2 separate regions of the Homo sapiens genome follow, and region 2 is linked to region 1. The links are contacts of gene promoters, found by promoter capture Hi-C in blood cells and fetal thymus (Javierre and others, 2016). All regions are on one chromosome and are shown on one strand. Each heading gives the region's core, a stretch centred on a gene start or on the middle of the fragment in contact. The rest is flanking DNA. Distances are from core to core; before and after follow the strand shown.

Evidence for each region. The method cuts DNA at HindIII sites, captures the fragments that hold promoters and counts their contacts. A CHiCAGO score of 5 or more calls a contact.
Region 2: a fragment that was not itself captured here is called in contact with the fragment with the promoter of MMP14 in region 1 in 5 of 17 cell types (naive B cells, neutrophils, erythroblasts and 2 more); the score reaches 7.3 in naive B cells.

What each region holds. Positions count from the first base shown.
Region 1 is chr14:22,833,160-22,838,066 of GRCh38, forward strand. It overlaps MMP14 (matrix metallopeptidase 14), which reads left to right and starts at 3,426. Exons shown (of 10, transcript NM_004995.4): 1 at 3,426-3,766. The coding sequence starts at 3,659. It overlaps MRPL52 (mitochondrial ribosomal protein L52), which reads left to right. Exons shown (of 5, transcript NM_180982.3): 4 at 259-323; 5 at 1,013-1,878. The coding sequence ends at 1,162. RefSeq lists a silencer at 3,084-3,300. The HindIII fragment of the contact is 13,873 bases long and covers 2,214-4,907 here.
Region 2 is chr14:22,621,886-22,626,671 of GRCh38, forward strand. No RefSeq gene overlaps it. Among named protein-coding and RNA genes, the nearest start is that of OR6J1, 20 kb to the right of the region's middle. The HindIII fragment of the contact is 2,566 bases long and covers 349-2,914 here.

The DNA.
Region 1 (4,907 bases), core at 2,176-4,675:
GAGCGAGACTGTCTCAAAAAATAATAAATAAATGAAATAAAATGAAATAGAGTAGTAATATGTCTAGGAGCTTATTCTGGGTTATCGTACCTCACCCTTGAAGATGATGGACATATTTTAGGATAATTAAGCTACAATGTATATGAAATGGAAGAGAGGAGCTAGAGATTGGTTCTTCCCTTATTCCTATCACAGTATTTGCACAAGGTGATGCAGTCCATCTCTAACACTTGACTTTTCTCTCACTTCTACTTGTAGATGGCCGCCCTGCTCCCCCAATGAAAGGCCAGCTTCGAAGAAAAGCTGAAAGGGAGACGTTTGCAGTGAGTGGTTAGAGCAACAGCCAGGGCTACCTGGAAGGAGAACATTTAAATCATAATTTGTCTTGAGCTGTGTTGCACCTAAGCAAACATGTACCCCTCATACAGAGGTTTTATTAATAACAGCCAAAGGTTTTTTTTGTTTTTGTTTTTGTTTTTTGTGAGACGGAGTTTCGCTCTTGATGCCCAGGCTGGAGTGCAATGGCGCTATCTCAGCTCACTTCAACCTACTCCCGGGTTCAAGCGATTCTCCAGCCTCAGCCTCCTGAGTAGCTGGGATTACACACGTGTGCCACCACACCCAGCTAACTTTGTATTTTTAGTAGAGACAGGGTTTTTCTATGTTGGTCAGACTGGTCTTGAACTCCCCACCTCAGGTGATCCGCCTGCCTCAGCCTCCCAAAGTGCTGGGATTACAGGTGTGGGCCACCATGCCTGGCCCCAGCCAAAGGTTTTAATAGCACTGTGAGAAGGGAGGAAGAGAGTGGGGCACTCCCAGGACAGGAACCAGTAGTAGACATCCTGCTGCACATTTTGCTGTCTCCCTCTGCTTCCCAAGCCAGAACTCGCTCCCACTGGGGAGTCAGCAGCGTCATTTTCCAGATGAAACCTCTGAATTTGTAAGTGGAAGGATATATAGTATAGCGCTGAAGTCCCAGATGTTATCCACACTGTTTTCCTGTCTGTTTCAGAGACGAGTTGTACTGCTGTCACAGGAAATGGACGCTGGATTACAAGCATGGCAGCTCAGGCAGCAGAAGTTGCAGGAAGAACAAAGGAAGCAGGAAAATGCTCTTAAACCCAAAGGGGCTTCACTGAAGAGCCCACTTCCAAGTCAATAAAAAGCAACTCCTGCCTCCCTTCCTCACCCTGTCTCTGGATTTCTTTTCTATCACCTAGATGCTTCATCCAGCCAGAAGATAGCCTTCACGTTCCCCATCTGTCTTCAGAGAAAAAGAGCTGGGACACCAAGAACAAGCTGTTAGATCACTGCCTGGGAGGCTTGGCTTAGTACTCTCATCTCTGGTTCCATTCCAGTTCAGCTAAGTCTTGCTTTAAAATTTTTACCTCCTAGCTGGGTGCGGTGGCTCACGCCTGTAATCCCAGCACTTTGGGAGGCTGAGGCGGGCAGATCACAAGATCAGGAGTTCGAGACCAGCCTGGCCAACCCAGCCTGGTCAACATGGTGAAACCCTGTCCCTACTAAAGATACAAACAATTAGCCGGGCGTGGTGGGGTGCGCTTGTAATCCCAGCTACTCAGGAGGCTGAGGCAGGAGAATCGCTTAAACTCGGGAGGTAGAGGTTGCAGTGAGCCAAGGTCACACCATTGCACTCCAACCTGGGCGACAGGGCGAGACTCCGTCTCAAAAAAAAAAAAAAATTTACCTCCTTTGCAGGCCATAGGACTAGCCCAACTATGAGAAATAGCTGTTCTGTGAACGTGAAAAGGGGACAGCAGTTTTCCCAGTTTTGGCCAGGCAGTCAAGCCTTTAACAGCTCATGCACAGTTTAGGCCATGTACAGCTGGCATCTAATAAATGTTTTCATGAAAAAGATTTTCTAGCCAAGGTCCCTTTTTTGGCAAGCATCTGGTGTCAGTCTTCCTAAGATTCAGATATGTGGTCCAGGAGGTTACCCCCACTGGGAAGGCTGATGTGGGAAGAATCATACCTGGGTGTTGCGTGTTCTGCCGAGAGTGGGGTCCTGAGGTCTCCATGGTTCTGAATGCATTCCAGAGATTGGTTGAAGAGGGGCCTGTACCTCCCAACCCCAGCTTGTGTAGGAAAGCCCTACATAAGGGCTCAGCCCTCAGTCACTGTGGGGTAGGTAGCTGTTTAATAACACACACCATATACCTCCCACAAACCTGGAGGCTCCACAGGACCTGAAAAGCTTTTCATTTTATTGATCATGAATCTGAGGGCAAAAGACCTTTGTTTTCATTACAATACTGAGCACTAGACTTCTATTCTTCTGCCACAGAAGTGCATCCCTAGGATTTCTGGAGCTTCCTACCTGACCTAATTTCTGTCCACCCTCCTCTATTCCTTCCTTTGCTTTCTTCTCCCTTCCTCCTCGCACTACCTCTGTCCTCTCTCACTGGCCAAATGCAATTCTTGGATCTTAGATTTCGCTGATAGTCTAGTTTTCTGTCTCCCACACTTTTCCTGCTTCTGTTGTGCTTCTTTTCCAGACCTGTCTAGTTCCCAACTCATCTGTCTCCCTTTCTCACGGTCAGCTTTATCCTGCCCTCTCCCTTCCCTACATACCTCCACCTTTTGTTCTGAGTCCAGTAAGTCCCTAAAGGAGATTATAACTCTTTAAGAATTGCCTCCTTTTTCAGTGTAGAGGTGGAACTAAACCCCAGAGTCCCAACTCCCAATCCCTTCTTTTACAATAATTTCACCCAACTTGATTTGCTTTCCCCCAGATCCCACGGCCTTGTACCCTTTTCCTCCCAGCGAGTTCCAATTAAAGGTGCAGCCACATTACAAATGACAATAAAGGAATCACCTTTGTCTTTCTACAAAGGTTGGAGCCACAGATCCGGTATGGTTGTGGGGTTTGTTGTTGGTAGTTGGGTTATAGTTTGGATTTTTTAGCAGCAGAGGGAGGGACATAGACAGTTGTCTACAGGGCCCAGAAGATAACCCCCTATTAGTAAACTGGCCCCTTCTCCCTCTGCAGGTCTCATGGGCATGGAAGAAGACCCCACCACCATCCCACACTCTGAGCTCCTCGTTGCCCCTAGCCACATAGCCCCCAATAATTCCCACCCTGAGGTGAGACAAATGCTGAATACCAGAGGAATCAAGCCACTCAGAATATGCTTATAGGGACAAAGTCTCCCACATCCCGTCCCCTGGATCCCCCTACAGCCCCCTGCTGTCCATCGCGGCCTCAACCCCTGCAGATGGCAGCCTGCACCACAAAAAGGCAACTTAGAGGTGTTTTTTTTTTTTTTCCTTCCAGTTCTTGGTTGTAATTGGATTCAGGCTAAAACAACCACGTCCCCAACCAGGAAAGGAGGGCACTGGGGCGGGGACGGAGGAGAGGCTGTGGGAGAAGGGAGGGACCAGAGGAGAGAGCGAGAGAGGGAACCAGACCCCAGTTCGCCGACTAAGCAGAAGAAAGATCAAAAACCGGAAAAGAGGAGAAGAGCAAACAGGCACTTTGAGGAACAATCCCCTTTAACTCCAAGCCGACAGCGGTCTAGGAATTCAAGTTCAGTGCCTACCGAAGACAAAGGCGCCCCGAGGGAGTGGCGGTGCGACCCCAGGGCGTGGGCCCGGCCGCGGAGCCCACACTGCCCGGCTGACCCGGTGGTCTCGGACCATGTCTCCCGCCCCAAGACCCCCCCGTTGTCTCCTGCTCCCCCTGCTCACGCTCGGCACCGCGCTCGCCTCCCTCGGCTCGGCCCAAAGCAGCAGCTTCAGCCCCGAAGTAAGTGAGCTTCCCGGCCCTTCCCGGAGTCGCGCCCGCCGGGAGGCGAGCCCGGGGGTCTCCTAGGGGACAGCCTCTATTCGGAGAGGAGGGCTTTTGGGATCTCCGCTGCTCAGGCCTGCAGGATTCCCCCTCCCTTTCTTTTTCCTCTTCGTCTCCAAACTTCCAGATCGATCCAACTTTTGCCCGCTTCCAACCAGCTGCCCCCACCCCCTGCGCCGCCGACTCTCCTTCCCATTCCTTCTTTTTTCCCAGTCCTTGGAAGAACTTTACAACTGGGGCGAACTCCCCCTTCCCCGATTCCCTTGGGCTCTGCTCTCAGCTCTGGAACCGCCTGATAAACATTTGGACTCCGCTCAAACCCCGCGCTGTCCCGGCTCCTCGTCATGCGCGAGAGTTTGTTGTTTCTTCGACTTCCCAGCTCTCCAGCGCTCTCCCGCCGGCGCGCCCTCCGATGGGCGCTTCGGCCTCCCCGGGTGGCCCAGGCCTTCAGCGGACGAGTCTGCGGCCAGGTGGGGGTCGAGGGTGGACGGCCGAGCGTCCAGGGCCACAGCCCCCGTCTCCCCGAGAGGACCCCGCTGTGTCCCTACCCGCATCCCTGGCGTCGAGGGTCGCAGCGCCGGCGCGCTGGCCGCGTTTCCGTACACACAAAGCTCTCCTTGTGAGCCGGGCGATCGGCCGGGTCGCTGCCTCCCCCTATCCCCACCCGCGTCGGCGCCTTCAGGCCCTTTTTGTTGTTAATAGTTTTTCTGTGTTAATTGCAGGGAGCCTGGGGGCGTCGCTTGGGGAATGGGGAGAGGGTCTGGTCCGGGGTGCCCTCACGTCGGGGCTGGCTCGGGCGCCCCCCACCCTCACCCCGGCCCAGACGGTGGCCCACCGGGCCCCAGAGGAAGCTGCGTGGGAGTTGTCTGAGGAGGTTTTTCCTCTCTCTCTCTTATTTTGGGGTGAAGGTGGGAGACGGATTTAATGAGCTTCTTATTTTGGGCCATCTCAACCCACTCAGCCTGGCAAGGGCCTGGGTGCGGTTGGGAGGGGCCAGGAAGGGCCCTAGAAGGGGGATGGGATATGGGTTTGGCTTCTCCTCCTTGGTCCCACCCCGGAGAAAACTCTTTGGAAAGAATACTGTCTTCTCTCTGCGTCC
Region 2 (4,786 bases), core at 382-2,881, 210 kb before region 1:
ACTAAGGAGGATTAACAGATGTCAGCAGGTGCACAGAGTCTGTTCCCCAACCCACAAGGACCCCATTATCTTGGTTGGTGACTCTGCTAAAGGCCTAGGAGATCTGTAGACTTCACCTTACTGATGGCTGATGCTCCTTCTTCCTGGAATATTCTGAGGCCTAATGGAGAGTTTGTGATAATTCAGCAACCACATATTTTAGTTGGTATATATGTGTCTTAGTCTGTTTCTTCTGCTATAAAGGAATACCTGAGGCCAGGTAATTTATAAAGAAAAGAAAACCTGTCAGTTCTGCAGGCTGTACAAGAAGCATGGCATCAGCATCTGCTTCTGGTGAGGGCCTCAGGAAGCTTCCACTCATGCTGGAAGGGTAAGGGGAGCTGGAGTGTGCAGAGATCACATGACAAGGCAGCGCAGGCCAGAGAGAAACAAGTGAGGTGCCAGGCTTGTTTTAACAATCTCTCCCAGGCACTGCTAGAACAAGAACTCACTCATAACCACACAGACAGCACCAAGCCATTCATGAGGAATCTGCCCCATGACCCAGACACCTCCCATTAGGCCCCATCTCAACATTGGGGATCAAATTTCAACATGAGATTTGAAGAGTCAGATATCCAAACTATAACAATATGAGAACAAATCACACACAACCAGAAGAATCCTGAGACATGCTAGTGGCTGAAAAGGATCCTGAAGGATATGGCGTTAGAGGTGATATTTTCATCTTCTCAGTTTGACCAGCTGACACCATGTGTTGTGTCTGGGAAAAGAATTTTTGAGAGGGCTCACAACTTATGATAGATTTATGGGCCTCTGATAAATTATGAGGTAACTAACACAAAAACTGGGCATCATGTACTTTCTAAAATGTTCAAGGAAAGTGTCCAAATGTAACTGCAAAACCATATATTATAGCAGTGGCTTCCTACATAGATCCACAGACTGGAGCTGGTCCATGATAAAGTATTTCTGGTTCATAACAAAATAGTGCCTTTTTTTTTTTAGTATTTTTAAATTCTGAAATTATATCCTTTCTAACCCTTTCAGGATTAAACTATTGTTATTTTATAAAAAGATGCTGATATTCTACGATTGTTTGGGGGTGAGAGGGAATGTCATTTTTTGTTTCCAAACATATCAATTTTAGAATTTTTTCCTGTATTTGTAATTAATATTATTAAAATCCTAAAGTCTGGGGAGTGCTGGCTATATTACAGAAGACCAGAGTGGGAGAGGAACTTGAATTTTATGACAAGAAGATAGATAAGTCAATCATGTGGATCCCATGACTGGAGGGGACCGTGGAAAGATAACGCTGTTCAGAGGAAGTGAATCTAATTGAAGGGACTCAACAATAGCATGTATGCCAAAAAGGAAACCACAGAACTGAAGGTGGAAATGTTTGGATGGGGATAAAAGGAGAAACAAACAGAAATAGATACTAAGATAATTGGAGGACACAGATGCTGCTTTCTTAGTTCAGACTGCCAAACATCAAAAGCAAGTTACAGTAGTGCCAGAGGTCTCCAAGAATCAGGACACTAACATGAGTCTCTTTCTGCCAGAAGCAGAGCACCTAGTAAATTCTTGCTCTACTCACAATTGCGTTTACTAGAATATTGAAAAAAGATTGTCAGATGTAATTTTTATAGATTTCAGGAAGTCAGATTTCAGAATGTTCCAAGGAAAATTATCTATAGTGCTTAAAAGGGACAGGGCATTCTCAAACATGAAGTTTCAATTGTATCTCAAAGGGTCCTGCTGAGGAAGAATGAAGCGGCTTCAGCAATCAGAAAGCGGCTGCACAGGTTGTTTTCTGATATGATCAAAGTGTGGGCAGAGATGAATGTCAAGTCTTTCACATGAGAAAAATGAACCTCGGCCGAGTGTGGTGGCTCACGCCTGTAATCCCAGCACTTTAGGGGACTGAGGCAGGAGGATCGCTTGAGCCCAGGAGTTCAAGACCAGCCTGGGCAATATGGCAAGACTCCATAGCTAAAAGTAAAAATAAAAATAAAAAATTTAATTAGCTGGGCATGGTGGCATGTGACTGTAGTCCTAGCTACTCGGGAGGCTGAGGCAGAAGGATTGCTTGAGCCCAGAAGTTCAAGGCTGCAGTGAGCTATGAAGCTATGGAGTGCCACTGCACCACAGCCTGGGCAACACAGTCAGACCATGTCTCCAAAAAAAAAAAAAAAAAAGATAGAAAAAAATGAACCAAACTAGTAAAGCAATGGCAGTTGATGTGAAAAGATTAAACCGATGTGAAGGTTTTAGTGGGCTAGAAGCTCTGTTTATGGCAGTAAAGGAATGAAGCTGCCCCAAAAGCTAATGGAAAGCTAGGTCTCATTCCCTGCATTGATTGGGGGACTCAATGGTTTCACTGTAACCTGATTTGAGTGTTGGGTTCAATTCTGAGAACATTTTTCCTTTTTTTAAATGTAAACAAAAATTTTTAATTGTACAAAAATAAGACAAAATTAAAAACACTTTTTAAAAAATCTATAATTATACTACCCACAAATAACCATGTTAAATACATTGGAATATATTCTTTCAGATGATATATATGTTATTATATACATAAATGTATATTTACTAGAATGAGAGCATACTAACAAAGTGCTTTATAAAAATTTTTAACCTTATTGTTATAAATCTCTTTCTATACCAATAAATATAGAATCCATAGAAATATATCATCATTTTTAACTGTTGCATCTTCTTCCACTGTCTGGATTTACTATAGTTCATTTACCTGCTTCTCTGTTCTTGGACTTTAAATTGCTTCCAAATATTTGTATGTTATAAACAATGTGCGCTAAGTCCCTTGTACGTACATATTTGCATATTTGACCAATTATTTCCTTCCTTGAGGTAAGATTGCAGGATTGAAGGGTTTGCAAAATGAAGCTTTTTTTTTTTATTTTGAGACAGAGCCTCACTCTGTCACCCAGGCTGGAGTGCAGTGGCGCGCTCTCGGCTCAGTGCAATCTCCACCTCCTAGGTTCACGCAATTATCTTGCCTCAGCCTCTTGAGTAGCTGGGATTACAGGCACACATGACCCTGCATGGCTAATCTTTTTGTATTTTTAGTAGAGACAGGGTTTTGCCATGTTGGCGCTGGTCTCGAACTCCTGACCTCAGGCAATCCACCCTCCTCGGCCTCCCAAAGTGCTGGGATTACAGGCATGAGCCACCACGCCCGGCAAAATAAAGCTTTTTGATAAGCAATGAGAATAGTTTATAACAAGTGATCAGAAAAAGAAAAGCAACCCAGAGAAAAATAAATGTTTTATTTTTGTGTACATGGCAAGAAATATGAATAAGTAATTTACAGAAGAAGATATGCAAATGACCAATGAATGATCGCTTCTCGGCCTTTTGGCTCTGATAAAGTGTACAAATGACCAATGAAGCCGGAACCAGTGGCTCATGCCTGTAATCCCAGCACTTTGGGAGGCCAAGGTGGGTGGATCACCTGAGGTCAGGAGTTCGAGACCAGCCTGGCCAACATGGTGAAACCTCGTCTCTACTAAAAATACAAAAATTAGCCGGGTGTGGTAGCAGGTTCCTGTAATCCCAGCTACTTGGGAAACTGAGGTAGAAGAATCGCTTGAACCCGGGATGCAGAGGTTGCAGTGAGCCGAGATCATGCCATTGCATTCCAGCCTGGATGACAACAGCAAAACTCCATCTCAAAAAAAAAAAAAAAAAAAAGAGGCCAGATGTGTTGGCTCATGCCTGTAATCCCAGCACTTTGAGAGGCCAAGGGGTGGATCACCTGAGGTCAGGAGTTCATGACCAGCCTGGCCAACATGGAGAAACCCTGTCTCTACTAAAAATACAAAAATTAGCCGAGCATGGTGGTTCATACCTGTAATCCCAGCTACTCGGGTGGCTAAGGCAGAATAATTGCTAGAACCAGGGAGGCAGAGGTTGCAGTGAGCCGAGATCCTGCCATTGTACTCCAGCCTGGGTGACAAGAGCAAAACTCTGTCTCAAAAAAAAAAAAAAAACACCAATGAACATATGAGAAGATACTCAACCTCACTAGCAATAGAAGAAATACATAACAATAAGATACTATTTTTTACATGCAGGTTGACAAAAATTTTAAAGATTGACAATAGCTAGTAATGGCAAAAAGTGAAGAAGTTGGATTTTTTATACAATGTTGGTGGGAGAGGAAATTGTTTCCACATTTTTGGAGGCAACTTGGCAGAATTTATCAAAATAATTACTGAAATTTAAAATGGTCCTACACTATTAGCCATAAGTCCTAATAGCAGGAATTTATGCCAAAAAAATTTAGCACCAGTAACAAAATAGAAGAAATGTGTGTTCATTGGTTATAAATGTGACATCTAAAAATGAATTATGGAATTTTATGGGTACTGTAAGCCAAAAATAAAATTCTAAGCACCCCGAACCAACTAAATGGGCCCCTCCTCTCGACCAAGGGCATTCTAAAGTAAACTTGAAACACTAGTTCAGGCCATGATGAGAATGGGTGGTCAGACATGCCTCCTTAAACCTTCCTCCCTTTGGAATTCAGGCACAGCTGACCAGCATTAACATTAAAACAGTCTTATACCTTAAGACAGGCAGCACAGATTCTTGGTAGCAATAAGATAACAATATGCAGACCAAGATAGCAGGCCCTGAAAGAAACCGAGTATTTTGCTCCAAAATATATTGCTTTGACATATTTTGAAATGGCCCTGCAAAGCTGTCTCTTTAAGTCTGATGTTCTCTCTGAAGCCTGCTACCTGAAGACTTC